Linked DNA regions of Homo sapiens: regions 1, 3 and 4 are each linked to region 2. The links are contacts of gene promoters, found by promoter capture Hi-C in blood cells and fetal thymus (Javierre and others, 2016). All regions are on one chromosome and are shown on one strand. Each heading gives the region's core, a stretch centred on a gene start or on the middle of the fragment in contact. The rest is flanking DNA. Distances are from core to core; before and after follow the strand shown.

The links. Contacts are between HindIII fragments. The CHiCAGO score rates a contact against its expected background, and 5 or more counts as called.
Region 1: a fragment that was not itself captured here is called in contact with the fragment with the promoter of RNF2 in region 2 in 9 of 17 cell types (naive CD8 T cells, naive B cells, fetal thymus and 6 more); the score reaches 8.7 in naive CD8 T cells.
Region 3: a fragment that was not itself captured here is called in contact with the fragment with the promoter of RNF2 in region 2 in 10 of 17 cell types (total CD8 T cells, naive CD8 T cells, non-activated CD4 T cells and 7 more); the score reaches 9.1 in total CD8 T cells.
Region 4: a contact is called between a fragment that was not itself captured here and the fragment with the promoter of RNF2 in region 2, in 1 of 17 cell types (total CD8 T cells). The highest score is 5.4, in total CD8 T cells.

Annotation. Positions count from the first base shown.
Region 1 is chr1:184,758,689-184,761,991 of GRCh38, reverse strand. The region is part of intron 2 of LOC105371649 (a long non-coding RNA gene); the gene reads right to left. Among named protein-coding and RNA genes, the nearest start is that of EDEM3, 5.5 kb to the right of the region's middle. The HindIII fragment of the contact is 8,455 bases long and covers 1-3,303 here.
Region 2 is chr1:185,043,658-185,046,834 of GRCh38, reverse strand. RNF2 (ring finger protein 2) reads right to left here and starts at 1,277. Exons shown (of 7, transcript NM_007212.4): 1 at 1,186-1,277. RefSeq lists a silencer at 1,388-1,647. The HindIII fragment of the contact is 4,610 bases long and covers 1-2,613 here.
Region 3 is chr1:184,742,529-184,745,832 of GRCh38, reverse strand. The region is part of intron 2 of EDEM3 (ER degradation enhancing alpha-mannosidase like protein 3); the gene reads left to right. Among named protein-coding and RNA genes, the nearest start is that of EDEM3, 11 kb to the left of the region's middle. The HindIII fragment of the contact is 2,444 bases long and covers 111-2,554 here.
Region 4 is chr1:184,782,859-184,786,287 of GRCh38, reverse strand. No RefSeq gene overlaps it. Among named protein-coding and RNA genes, the nearest start is that of EDEM3, 30 kb to the right of the region's middle. The HindIII fragment of the contact is 366 bases long and covers 1,426-1,791 here.

The DNA of each region.
Region 1 (3,303 bases), core at 64-2,563, 280 kb after region 2:
TCTGAAGATTATATTTGCTTAAGAGCTACTTCTGTAAATAATAATGTCTATTAATCTCTAGCAATGGATGAAAAATAGTACATTTTGTGCACAATGAAACTATACTTGCCTCATCATCTAGTGCCAAGAAAAATATGGTGATCTTCAAGAAAGCCGTGTATCTAACACCACTCTCTCAAAGTTTTAAGTATAATCATGTATTTGAAGGTTGTATACTGATTTTAAAGTATCACAAAGAGATTGATCTGCAAATAAACCAAGAACTCTTTATTCTACTTCTCATCCATCACAAACCTTTACTACCCCCACTTATTACCTAAAAGCCCTACCTGTAAAAAATCAAGCAAAAAACAATCCCAACCAAAAAAACTCCAAACTTATCAATACATTTGGAGAAGAAACAGAAATAAGCACTGTTTTCATAGAACTTTAAGCTGGAGGCCAGGAAATATTTAATTTCAAATATTTAAGGACTGTCAGCATTTACCTCTGAGGTTAAGAAATGCTGGGGATTGACAAATTTGGACCACTCTGAGGATTACAAGAACAGGAAGAAAGGGTGAAAAGACAGTACTACAAGTATGTGTATACAAATACATACATGTGCAATATATGTATATTGTATATGTGTATATATTTATATATACTCATATACAAAACATATATGTATATGTATGCAAAGGGAGCTCCTAGGAAGAACACAGGGTTTGGATAACAATTCTAGGAAGAATGTCGGATTTGGATAATGAGAAATGATAGGATCATTACAGAAATAACTTATTTTTAATTCTTAAGTGTCCTAATGTTGGGGATTACTCTACCTAATGCTTTTTGACAAGATCAACTGGGCACCTTTCACTTTGATCCTTAATTTCATAATTAGATAACCAGTAAAACTATCTTTCTAAATCCCTTGGAGGTTGGAGGTAAGATGAGCTTTTACAAAAACAAAGTAAAACTGAAGAAAGTCACACAAACAAAAAAGCTGCAAAGATTTTCTGACAACTTTATTCCAGAACGTTTATAACTTCAAATGTCTTACAAATGAAGCCATTATTAATTTTAAGAGGACAGAAAAGTACCTTGTGTTTTTGTGCGTATTTACTCTAATACAGGGATGAGGCGCTATAGCTCATACAAACTGTGCCTGAATTCAACAGTCTCTGGAGTTGCTGGCCTAAAGAGGGCTACATTTTTGGATGGGGAGCCTGCAATGGCAGCACGAAGTAAGCAAGCAAAGGAAGTAGACAAGATTCAGGGCTGGGGCCAGGCATGGTGGCTCATACCTGTAATCCTAGCACTTTGGGAGGCGGAAGTGGGAGGATCGCTTGAGTCCAGGATCTCAAGACCAACCTGGGCAACATGGTGAGACCCTGTCTCTCTTTCTCTCTGTTTTTAAAAAAATAATAATTAAAAAAGAAAAAAAGATTCAGGGCTGAAAATAAAACCAGAGCCATGGGTGCTGTTGGAGCAGCTGCACTCACCCTTGAATCCTACTCTCAACAATGGCGATGTTTTCTCTTTACCTCATAATCATGATATGGATACCTACTATTTATTGAGTTCCTTCAAACTGTACTAAATATTTTACACACACCATCTCATTATCTTCACAACATCCCTAAAAGGAAGGCATAACAATTAAACCATTTAATCTTTCTAAAAATGCTGTGAGGTAGGTATTATTCTTATTCTCATTTTACAAATGAGGAAACAAAAGCACAGAGATTTAGTCATTTGCTTAAGGAAGCCCAGCCAATAATCAGCAGAGCTGTCTCAGAGCCATTGTTCTTGGCCTGAATGGTACCTGTGCAACTGTTGTTGAATGGTGCTCACCTAAATCCTGTGGCCACACTGTACCAATAAGTGGGAACTATGCTGATGGTGAAATGGGGATTTAAGAGAGGGAACAAACACAAAATGTACTCCCTCGAAGAGCCATGTGACTTGGTTTTGCTTCTGATACTTGAAGTAAATGGAAAATGGCCACTAAATAAGTGACCCAACCAAATAATCATGACACATGAGCAAACTTTCTTGCCTGAGAGAGTTGGAGCTAGTGCCAGTGAGAGAAATGGGATAATAATCTGAAGGTGAAGTGATTTTGAAGATCTCAAATCAAGATGGAGAGGTGGAAAAAGCCCTGGGGACATCTTTTGGGGAGGTGAATCATCTGAATCTCTCATTCTCTTTCTTAGAATTTGAAAAAATCAGTCCGACAGCCACGCAGGAAGTCAGTTGACGACATTCACCGAGTATCTTTGTCATGAGGTGCTCTTTCTAAGGCCTCAAAGTCACTAATTGTGAATGCAGAATAATTACTGTCTTTATTTAATGTTTGCAAGATTGGGTTCTCTAGAAGAAAACTGTTGTCAATTCTGCATGCTATCAAAGAATAGGAAAAGCAATTTGAAGAATGACAAAATCACCACTCCCAAATTCCATACTAGTTTCAGGAGTAATTAGAACTGTAGTACTAAAGAATTCAAATCATTTAGGGGCAACTGCTGTTCTATGACCAGTTTTGCACAGCTGGTCCCAGCTTCCTAGGACTATTTCTGAGCCATAATATTAAAATGGAGCCCCTCCCTGTGTTTTTGAATCCATATGGTTCTACCCAGGGCTCCTATCCCTCCCTAACTTCTGACACATCCAAGCAGGAAAGTGAGCATGCATATTTACATAAGCTACAAGGCTGTGCAAACAGATTGTTAACTGGTTAAAGGGCATTTTAGAAATGGCTGTTATTTCTTACCATTTTTAATGGGTTTTATACATAAAAAATCTTTATATCTTTAAAAGTTCTATCCTTATTCTTCTGATGTGCTTTCCACCAGTCTTTTTCCCTCTGTACAACACTAGACTCTCTCAATTAACTCGTACATCCTTTTTATCACTAAGTGTATAGGTTTTAAAATAACGTAAGTGAATTTTTCCTAGTGTTCATAAAGTGCCAATTAGCTGAGAATTTCCATTATTTTCATTACGGGGTTAAATACGTTTTGTTCTGTTTTGTTTTGTTTTTGTTTTTGTTTTTTTTTTGAGACAGGGTTTTGCTCTTGTCACCCAGACTAGAGTGCAATGACATGATCTTGGCTCACTGCAACCTCCGCCTCCTGGGTTCAAGCGATTCTCCTGCCTCAGCCTCCCAAGTAGCTGGGATTACAGAAGCCTGCCACCACACCCGGCTAATTTTTGTATTTTTAGTACAGACAGGGTTTCATGATGTTGGCCAGGCTAGTTTCGAACTCCTGACTTCAGGTGATCCGCCCACCTCGGCCTCCCAAAGTGCTGGGATTACAG
Region 2 (3,177 bases), core at 28-2,527:
GTATTCCAGCTGATCATCTTGGAATTACCAAAAGTAGATTATGTAATGCAAATCGCTCGTACATTCGTTTTAAACATATCCTCGGTTTAGAACACTGAAACCATGCCTTAATTTTTTTAATTGAAAAACAGCGTATTACTAAAATACTGAGTGCATATGTATATCCTTTTCACGGCACTTCAAAGAAACCTGACATCTTCAAATCATTTTACAATGTAAAGTTACATTCTCTAAAACTTCCGACAGCCTCGAAAAAGATACCCAAAGGGGCTTCAAATAGATGAGTCTATAATTGATCTTAGCGGGCAAATAACTGGAATGAACCTCAAAGTTTGAGATCAATTTTTACTAACACCATCTCTGAAAGCAAGAAGGAGACTTCTGTAGAAGGTAAACGATTCTGACCAGCAGGACGTGGGCTCCCGGCAAAAGTGGGTACTAGCATCTCAGCGTAAACGACACGGTTCAAAACGCGAATCTTCCCGCAGAAACTAACCAAGACACCCCCTCCCCCCACGACTCCTCCTGGGTAAGCTCACGGTTTTAGAAAGCAGCAACAGATACTCCAGAGCAGGAGGCGGCACTCCAGGAATGTGTGAAGCTGAAGGGGTCTCCCCGAGGAACCCCGAGGTCGAGGAGCTCCTCTACACTGGAACCCCGACTCCGACCCCCCAGAAGGAAGGAGCGATATCTGCACAAAGTGCCCCCTACCCCACCCCCACGATGCAGACACACATCCCTAGCTGCGAGGCGAAAGCCCAGAGAAAAAACTCGCATTCCACTCCGTCCGCCTCCGGAGTAGGGCTGCAGAGAGGCTGGGGCCCCCGCCCCCGGAGGCGAGGGGACCGCGCCGCAGCGCCGGCCTCCGCGCAGAGGAAAGGGCAGCGAAAGGCTCGCGGCGAAGGAAGGAATCCCGGCGCTTCGCTGACTGGGTCCTCCGCAAACCAGCTCCCTTCCCTCCCACGACCCTCGAAGACACGGGAACAATGAGAACCCGCTTCACCCGCCGTCTCCGCCGCGAGAGCGGCCGGGGGCGGCGGCGGCGCCATGTCCCTTCACACCCCCGCGGACACACACCCCCCCCACACTCCGGGGCCCCCGTCAGTCGCCTGCAACGCTGCCGAGTAGACGCGTGTCCCGGCCCGCTGCTTCCGCGTCCTTCGCCTCCCCGCCCGCCCCACTCACCGGCTCCTGCCCCAGCCCAGGGCTCCGCTGGCCGCGGCCGGAGCAAGACTCTGGTATCAGCTGCCGCGGACGCCGGCGCCGCCGCACAATATGGCGAGCCTCAGCTTCCGCAATGGAGCTCGGGAAATACAACAGGGGCCGCTCAATATTCATGAGAGACTGAGGGGAAGCCGGCTCGGCCGGCGCTGCGGGGAGGGCGGGAAGGAGCGAGCGAGCGAGGGGCGGAGGCGCGGGACGAGGACGTGCACGGCGCGGGGAGGCCCGCGGCGCGAGGGAGGGTGCGCCGCCGCGTGTTGGCCTGGAGAACCCGCGCCACCGCCCCGCCCTGGGCTGGCCGGCCACGCCCCCCCGGCGCCCACCGCGGTCCGACGTAGCCCCCGGGCAACGCCCGGATGACGGCGCAGCCACCTCGTGCTCAACCTTCTGCTTGGGTTCTTCTGCCCTGGCTTCGGCCCACCCTTTACACCTTCCTGGCCGGCTTCTGGGGTTTGGGCTCAGACTTCTTTCTCATGAGTTCGTCCTCTTAAACCTGTCCCACCCGGCGGAAATCCTCATCAGGCTTTGGTTTGCAGAACTTCACATGAACTTCGGCACCCTTCCGCTCTCGTACAACAAACATACACTTTTCATCCTTGCAGGATAAAACTGCAAGTGTAATTGCTCCTGGGAAAATGACCTTCCACTCTAAACTTAGCTTAACATTCTGATTGTGGTCATCAGCTCTTACTATTTACCTTGCTGCTGCTTTATTCCTACCTCCTTGGCCCCTTCCAGTGTTACCTTCTGAACTTGAGGATTTACGAAGTAATAGATTAATAGATGTAATCATTACCTAAAACACAGCCAGTTAGTCTCCAGTAAATTATCCGACATTTAATGCATATAAATTATGAGCTGAAGAAGTAACGAAGAATTGAAAGTTCCCTGATCTCTATATGTACTATTGTTGAGATGTCATGTTCTCTTGAGAAGATAACCAGCAATACCAGACCGTAAATCTGAAGGCATAGAGGCATAAACCAATGGACTGCAGTGGGAATTGGGCAAACTAGGTTCATAGCCTCCAATGTGTGTCTATGTGACTTACGTAGATTGCGTAGCTCCTCTGCACTTCATTTTCTTCGTCTGCGAGATGAGAGAATTGTATTGAATCCTAGGTCCTTTCCAGTTCTTTAACGCTCTGAAACTCTCTATAAGCAATTCCAAATAAATGACATGAATTTACATAGGAATTTGGAAAAGAAAAATATCAATTCCAGCTGGTGTGTTTGGGGATGATTTCCTGAGGAGCCGGGATTTAAGATGGCCTTTGACGCCTTGGATGGGTGGAAAGAAAAAGGACAGGTGTTAAATACAGCACATTATATATGCTACCTAACAATCCATCAAAGAAAACAAGCATTATTCTTTTTCAGTGGCTTGAAAGCTTTTGCCTACTATCTATAACTTTAAATAACAAGTGACAGTTATCTGACTCTACAAGCCCTTCAAGGTTAAACTCTTCCTCCAATGTGGGGGGAGAAAAAAAGGCTGGGTGTGGTAGCTCACGCCTGTAATCTCAGCACTTTGGGAGCCCAAGGCCACCGGATCACTTGAGATCAGGAGTTCGAGATCAGCCTGGCCAATATGGTGAAACTGTCTTTACTAAAAATACAAAAAAAAGTTAGCCAGGTGTCGTGGCACGCGCCTGCAGTCCCAGCTACTCGGGAGGCTGAGGCAGGAGAATCGCTTGAACCTGGGAAGCAGAGGTTGCAGTGAGCCGAGATCGCGCCATGACACTCCAGCCTGGGTGTCTCGGCGAGACTGCGTCTCAAAACAAAACAAAACAACAACAACAACAAAATCAAAATAATCAGGGAAGCTCTGCTTCTCCCTTCTTGTGAAAGTCCACTTTCTAGAAACAGTGCAGTTGCAGAAGCATCTCCCTTCTTCCTTCATGACGAGTGCATGTGTAGTTCAATTAAAGGAAGACAGGTGTTCATAATTTAGAAC
Region 3 (3,304 bases), core at 83-2,582, 300 kb after region 2:
AGCAAAAACTATATTCTGGTAAGAGCCCTAAACATTAAAAATAAGCTTGGATAGAGTTGGTAAGCACAATTTCCTTTAGTAGAATCGTACCTAATAACCACTATTAAGCTTGATTTTGTGAAAGCAACAGTAGAATAGTCTTTATTAATCAAACCAAAGGAACTCTTTCAAAATGAACTTCCTGTGCATTTCTAGATTTATGTACATTTTTTTGGAGTGCCTCTCCCCTACCCCCCAATGTTTAAAAAAAATTTTTATTGTTGTAAAATATACATAATATGAAATTTACCATTTTAACCATTTAAGTTTACAGTTTTGTGGCATTAAGTACATTCATATTGTTGTGCATTCATCTCTAGAAATTTTTTCATCTTCCCAATCTGAAACTCTGTACTCGGTGTTTCTCTTTAATGGTTCATTCATCAGAAACAGTAATTCTGTAAACAAAGTATTTTAGGCATGGTACTAATGGGAGTAAGGGAGATATAAATTTATATTTACCTTTTTTTGTGTAGACTGTTGTGGGACTATCATCTATGAGTCATTGTTCCTTGGCCTTTGCTTTCAGAACATCCTAAAACCCTACCAAAATTACACAAGAAATTCTATAGTATCCTCTCAAAACATTTTGTAATCACACTCTGATACTCTACATAGAATTTTAATTCAGTAGAACCAGATCGTTCAGCTAATTCATCTTTTTTAGATATAATTTACAGACAATAAAATTTCAAATTGAGTGCACAATTCTTTTTTGACAATTGTATACAGTTGTTTAACCACCATCACAGTCATGATACAGAACATTTTCATCACCCCAAAAATTTAACTCATAGTTATTTGCAGTAAATTCCTTCTCCCCACCTCTGACGCCTAGCAACCTTGATTTGTGTTTTGTCACTACACCTTTCTCTTTCCTAGGATTTCATATATATGGCATCATACAGTACATAGTCTTTTGATTTACTTTCTTTCATTTAGCATGATGCTTTTGAGATTTATCCATGTTGTTGGAGATATATTGTAATTCCTATTTATTGCTCAGTAGTGTTAGTTGATTTGCTAGAACACAATATTGGAGATATATTGTAATTCTTATTTATTACTCAGTAGTATTAGTTGATTTGATTGAACATAATTTCTTTGTCCATTCACCATTTAATGAGTATTTGACTTATTTTTGGTCTTTGGCTATTATTGTATTAATAAAGCTGCTGTCAACCTGTGAGTGCAAGTTTTTATTTGGGCATACATTTTCATATATTTCCCACCTAGGAATAGGATTACTAGGTCATATGGCAAGTGTAAGTTTAACTTAATAAGAAATGCCAATCTTTTCTAAAATGGCTATAATATTTTGCATTTCCCACCAGCAGTGTATGAGTTTTAATTATTCTGTGTCCTTCCACTTGGTATTTCCAGTCTTACTAATTTCAGCCATTCTGTTGGGTGTATAGTGGTAGTTCATTGTGATTTTAATTTGATTTTTCCTGATGATTAATGACATTGAAAATTTTCCCATATGCTTATTTGCTATTCATATATATATATATATATATATATATATATATATATATATATATTTGTCATTTGTTCTGTTATTACTGAGTTATAAAAGTTAATATGTTCTGGATATTAGTCCCTTATCAAATATATGCTTTGGATATATTTTCTCCCAGTCTGTGCTTTACATTCTAATTTTCTTAACAGGAACTTTTGAAGCACAAATACTTTAAATTATGATCAATCCAGTTTATTATTTTTCTCTTATGATTCATGCCTTTTATAGCCTACCTAAAAAATATTTGCCTAGCCCAATGTCACAAATTTTTTCTTGTTTTTTTTTCCTAGATGTTCTATAATTTTAGCTTGTTCATTAGATCTATAACTGATTTTGAGTTAATTTTTGTATATGATGTGAGGTAAAGGTGGATTTATATATTTTTTTAATGTGGCTGTCTAGTTATTCCAGCACCATTTGTTGAAAATAATATCCTTTCCCTACTGAATTATTTTGAAATATGTGTAAAAAAATTGGTTTATCATGTATACATGGGTGTGTTTCTAGACTCTGTATTTTGTTTTGTTGATCTATCTACCCTTATACAAATATCACATTGTCCTGATTATTGTAGTTTAATAGTGGGTCCTGAACTCAGGCAGTTTAAGTCTTTCAGCTTTGTTGTTCTTTTTTAAAATTGCTGAAGTTACCAGATCTAGGAGCAAAGAGTCAGTTTTTGATGCTGCTTTGACTTGAGTGGTTTAGAGCAGAAGTCTGTTACCTCAAAGCCCTAGTAAATTTAGAGTCTGATATGGAGGGTCTATTATGATTTATTTTATTTTATTTTATTTTATTTTTGCTCTTTCAGCTAGGCACATGTTCTACTTAATTTATATAGGACTCTCATCATCTGAGTTTTATTTCTGAGTGATAATTATTAAATGTTTCTCATGGCTCTGAGTCATATCAATATGAATTACGTATCCCTCAACAATAAACTGTGAAGAGAGAGGAGGTATTACTGTGCCTCAAAAAGCCAGGATGTTTGAAGCTTGATAAGGCTGTTAATTTGCCACGTATGCATTGCTCTGAATTTGTGCAAACTGTCTGTAGTTTGCTTTGTGGTTAACCCAAAGAAAAAGGTGTGGTTGTATTTTTATTCTTAATCTTGAAACAAAGAGACAAAGTATTTTTACACCTGGTTTGAAACTCCCTTATTTGATTATTCTGGGTTGCAATTGCTATTAATATTTTTATTATCTAGATTAATTTCAGGATTTGAATGGCATATTTAATTTAGAGTTTGAATTTATATTAATTTCAGACAGAGGTATGTGTGTGTCTGTGTGTTAGAAAACCCTAAAAAACAGCAGTATGAAGTTTTCTATGCAGTGTTTAAAATAGTAAGGAACTGTTTACAACCTAATTAACATTTGAATGATGTTTTACAAAGATTCTTTCAAAATACATTAGGAATTTTAAAAAATTTTTGTATTTCTTCTAAGTGTTGTTTATATGTGTTAAATATAAAACTATAAAGCAATAAAAATGTACATTCTGGGAAATCAGTTCTGTTGGAATTGACACATAAAAGAGTAGTCAGGAATTTGACACATGAAAAGATACGTGTAAAAGTAATTAGGGGCTGGGCATGGTGGCTCACGCCTGTAATCCCAACACTTTGGGAGGCCGAGGCAGGTGGATCACCTGAGGTCAGGAGTTCAAAACCAGCCTGGCCAACTTGGTGAAACCCCGTCTCTTCAAAAAGACAAAATTAGCCAAGTATGGTGGCGCACACCTGTA
Region 4 (3,429 bases), core at 359-2,858, 260 kb after region 2:
ATTTGACCTGTGACAAACATAGTTTATAACTTCAAGTAAAGAAGCACAGTTTTATCCGAGAAACATGCTAATGACAGATGCAGTGTTCTATAGCAAACAATTGTAATGTTTGGAAAAGTTTACAGTCCTTGGGTGATAACTATAAACATAAACCCAATTTTGAAGGAAAACTCTTGTCTCCAAAGTAAAGCAAAACAAAACAAAACAAAACAAAAACTAGCTAGAAACTCAATTTCCTGCCACCAAACAAATAACGACCTTACATACAACCTTTATCTTGCCTGGTTAATAATCTTTATTTTTTTGTAATCCTAAGAACTGATTTGTAAGTATCCCTCACTCCTCTCCTTCACCTGTTAAAATATAACTCCTAGGATATAATATTCTTAAAAGCGCTTTACCAGATTTTGCCCTTCTGGTTTTCTCACTAGAATATTGTTGTCCTAGTGACCTACTTCTTTTAAAATTTTACTTAAGGCTGAATACAAGATTTTGAGGCTTGATAATTTTATTTTGTTAGAACAATTTTATTCCTCCTCTTGTAATATGCCATCTCAGCAAGAATGCTTTTTCCTTTACCTGTCTGCCCAACACATAGACCACATCAGGACTCATATTCTGTTCCTGGCATCATTTCAAGCCTCCTTTCTATGAATCCCATTGACTATTATATCTGACAACATTGATTTTGGCATTTATGTACCACCAAGAAATTTTTAATAATTTCCCATGTGTTTTGACACCTGACCAGATCGTAAGCTTTTGGAGGAGAGGGAGTTTTCCCTGCATGTCTTGACACTCAATGTATTCATAGAATCATAAACTCTTAGAGTTGAGAGATATTCTAAATTTCATCCAATGCAAATGCATTCATTGTACTTGCATTTCTCCTTTAAAATTTTCCTGCTAAGTGGTCATTGCCAAGAATGGGGAATTTACTATCCCCCTAAGGAGGAGCACATCCCATTTTCAGACAAATTTAATAGAGAGCAAAAATATTGCCCTCCCATTCTCCGCTCTACCTCCACCACCATTTCTGACCATAATTTTCATTCCATAGATCCAATTCTGTCCAACAGGGTTGTACACAACATTTGAATGAGAGCTTTCAAACATCTCCAAACAACTGAGACCCCTTCTCCAGGATCAATATTCCAAAGACCTTCCCTTTTTTTATGTGGCATGGCTTTCAGTCCCCATGTTGAGTGTTTTTACAAACTAATTCCTTGTTTATTCTTTTCTTCCTTGAAGCAGGTCCCTCAAATTACCCCTCCTCTCCTTCAATAACCTCTACATCATAGTCTAACACATTTTCTCTTGAGGATCTTCTCTCCCCAAACCCAACCCAGAGTAAGGCACCTTTTTTCACTTCCTTCCTTGCTGTCTTCAAAGGAAAGCAAGGAGCACTTTTTTTTTGGCAAAGCTTTTGCTTCCAAGCACTATAGGAAAATAAATGAGATAAAATAATAAAAACTCTACAAGTTACAAAAAATGAAAAGTTCTTATATTTAAGTTTCCAGGTCTACCATATTTTACTCCTTCTGAGGAGATAAAAGGAAGACTTGGTTGTCAGTTTGCTACTTATTTGTAAAGGTGGGGCTCACCAACATTCCCTCTACTTCCGACCCCAGCTTGTAAAAGGCCATATGAACCCATTCCTTCAAGAAAACACCTTACCCACAGAATGCAGTTCAGGAAAAACAAGTGCTTCAATGGTTAAATGGTTAAATGTTATAGATATGGGCTTCTAGGCTGCAAGCTCCACTGGATTATCTTACCTAGGAACAAGCTTAACATTTTATTCTTCCTCTTAGAAAGCTTTTTGTTGTCTTCAGGGCATTTATTAATCTAATTTTCACCAAAACCAAAATGGATATATATCGGGGGAACCCACCCTCAATATTTCAATGTAGGTTCTTTCTATTTTCCCTAAGTGTCGGCCGGCTGAGAAATAAAGAGAAAGAGTACAAAGAGAGGAATTTTATAGTTAGGCCTCTGGGGGTGACATCACTTATTGGTAGGACCATGATGCTCACCTGAGCTGCAAAACCAGCAGGTTTTTATTAAGGACTTCAAAACGGGAGGGGGTGTATGAACAGAGATCACATGCTTCAAAGGGCAAAAAAGGAGAACAAAGATCACAAGGCAAAGGGCGAAATCAAAAACTTCTGATAAGGGTCTATGTTCAGATGTGCATGTATTGTCTTGATAAACATCTTAAAAAACAGAAAACAGAGTTCGAGAGCAGAGAACCAGTCTGACCTCAAATTCACCAGGGTGGGGTTTTTTCCCCACCCTAATAAACCTGAGGGTACTGCAGGAGACCAAGGCGTATTTCAGTCCTTATCTCAACCGCATAAGACAGACACTTCCAGAGTGGCCCTTTATAGACCTCCCCCCAGGAATGCATTCCTTTCCCAGGGTCTTAATTATTAATATTCCTTGCTAGGAAAAGAATTCAGTGATATCCTCCCTACTTGCATGTCCATTTATAGGCTCTCTGCAAGAAGAAAAATATGGCTCTATTCTGCCCAACCCCACAGGCAATCAGATCTTATGGTTGTCTTCCCTTCTTCCCTGAAAATCGCTGTTATTCTGTTCTTTTTCAAGGTGCACTGATTTCATATTGTTCAAACACACATGTTTTACAATCAATTTGTACAGTTCAACACAATAGTGGTCCTGAGGTGATGTACATTCTCAGCTTACGAAGATAGCAGGATTAAGAGATTAAAGTAAAGACAGGCATAAGAAATTATAAGAGTATTATTTGGGAACTGATAAATGTCCATAAAATCTTCAAAATTTATGTTCAGAGATTGCAGTAAAGATAGGTGTAAGAAATTATAAAAGTATTAATTTGGGGAACTGATAAATGTCCATAAAATCTTCACAATTTATGTTGCTGTGCCGTGGCGCCAGCCAGTCCCTCCATTTGGGGTCCCTGACTCCTGCAACAGATATATAAAACAAGATCTCAAAAAATGTCAAGGATAGAAATAAGGATTTGGAAGTCAATGGCATATATATTGATAGTTAAAGCTGTGGGGGTGGATACAATATCTCCCTTGGCTGGGCATGGGGGCTCTCACCTGTAATCCCAACACATGGGGAGGCTGAGGCAGGAGGATTGCTTGAGCCCAGGAGTTCGAGACCAGCCAGGGCAACATCTCTATGTAGAAAAATTAGCCAAGTGTGGTGGTGTGCACCTATAGTCCCAGCTACTTGGGAGCTTGAGGTGGGAGGATCACCTCAGCCAGGGGAGGTCAAGGGTACAGTGGGCCATGATTGCACCACTGCACTCCAGCCTGGGCAACAGAGTGAGACCCTGTGTGTAAAAAAGAATATCTCCCTAGGAGAATCCATAGAAAAGTGAGCTAGCAAACTTAGGGAACATCTATGTTTGTGGAGCAGGAGGAGAAAAAGTCA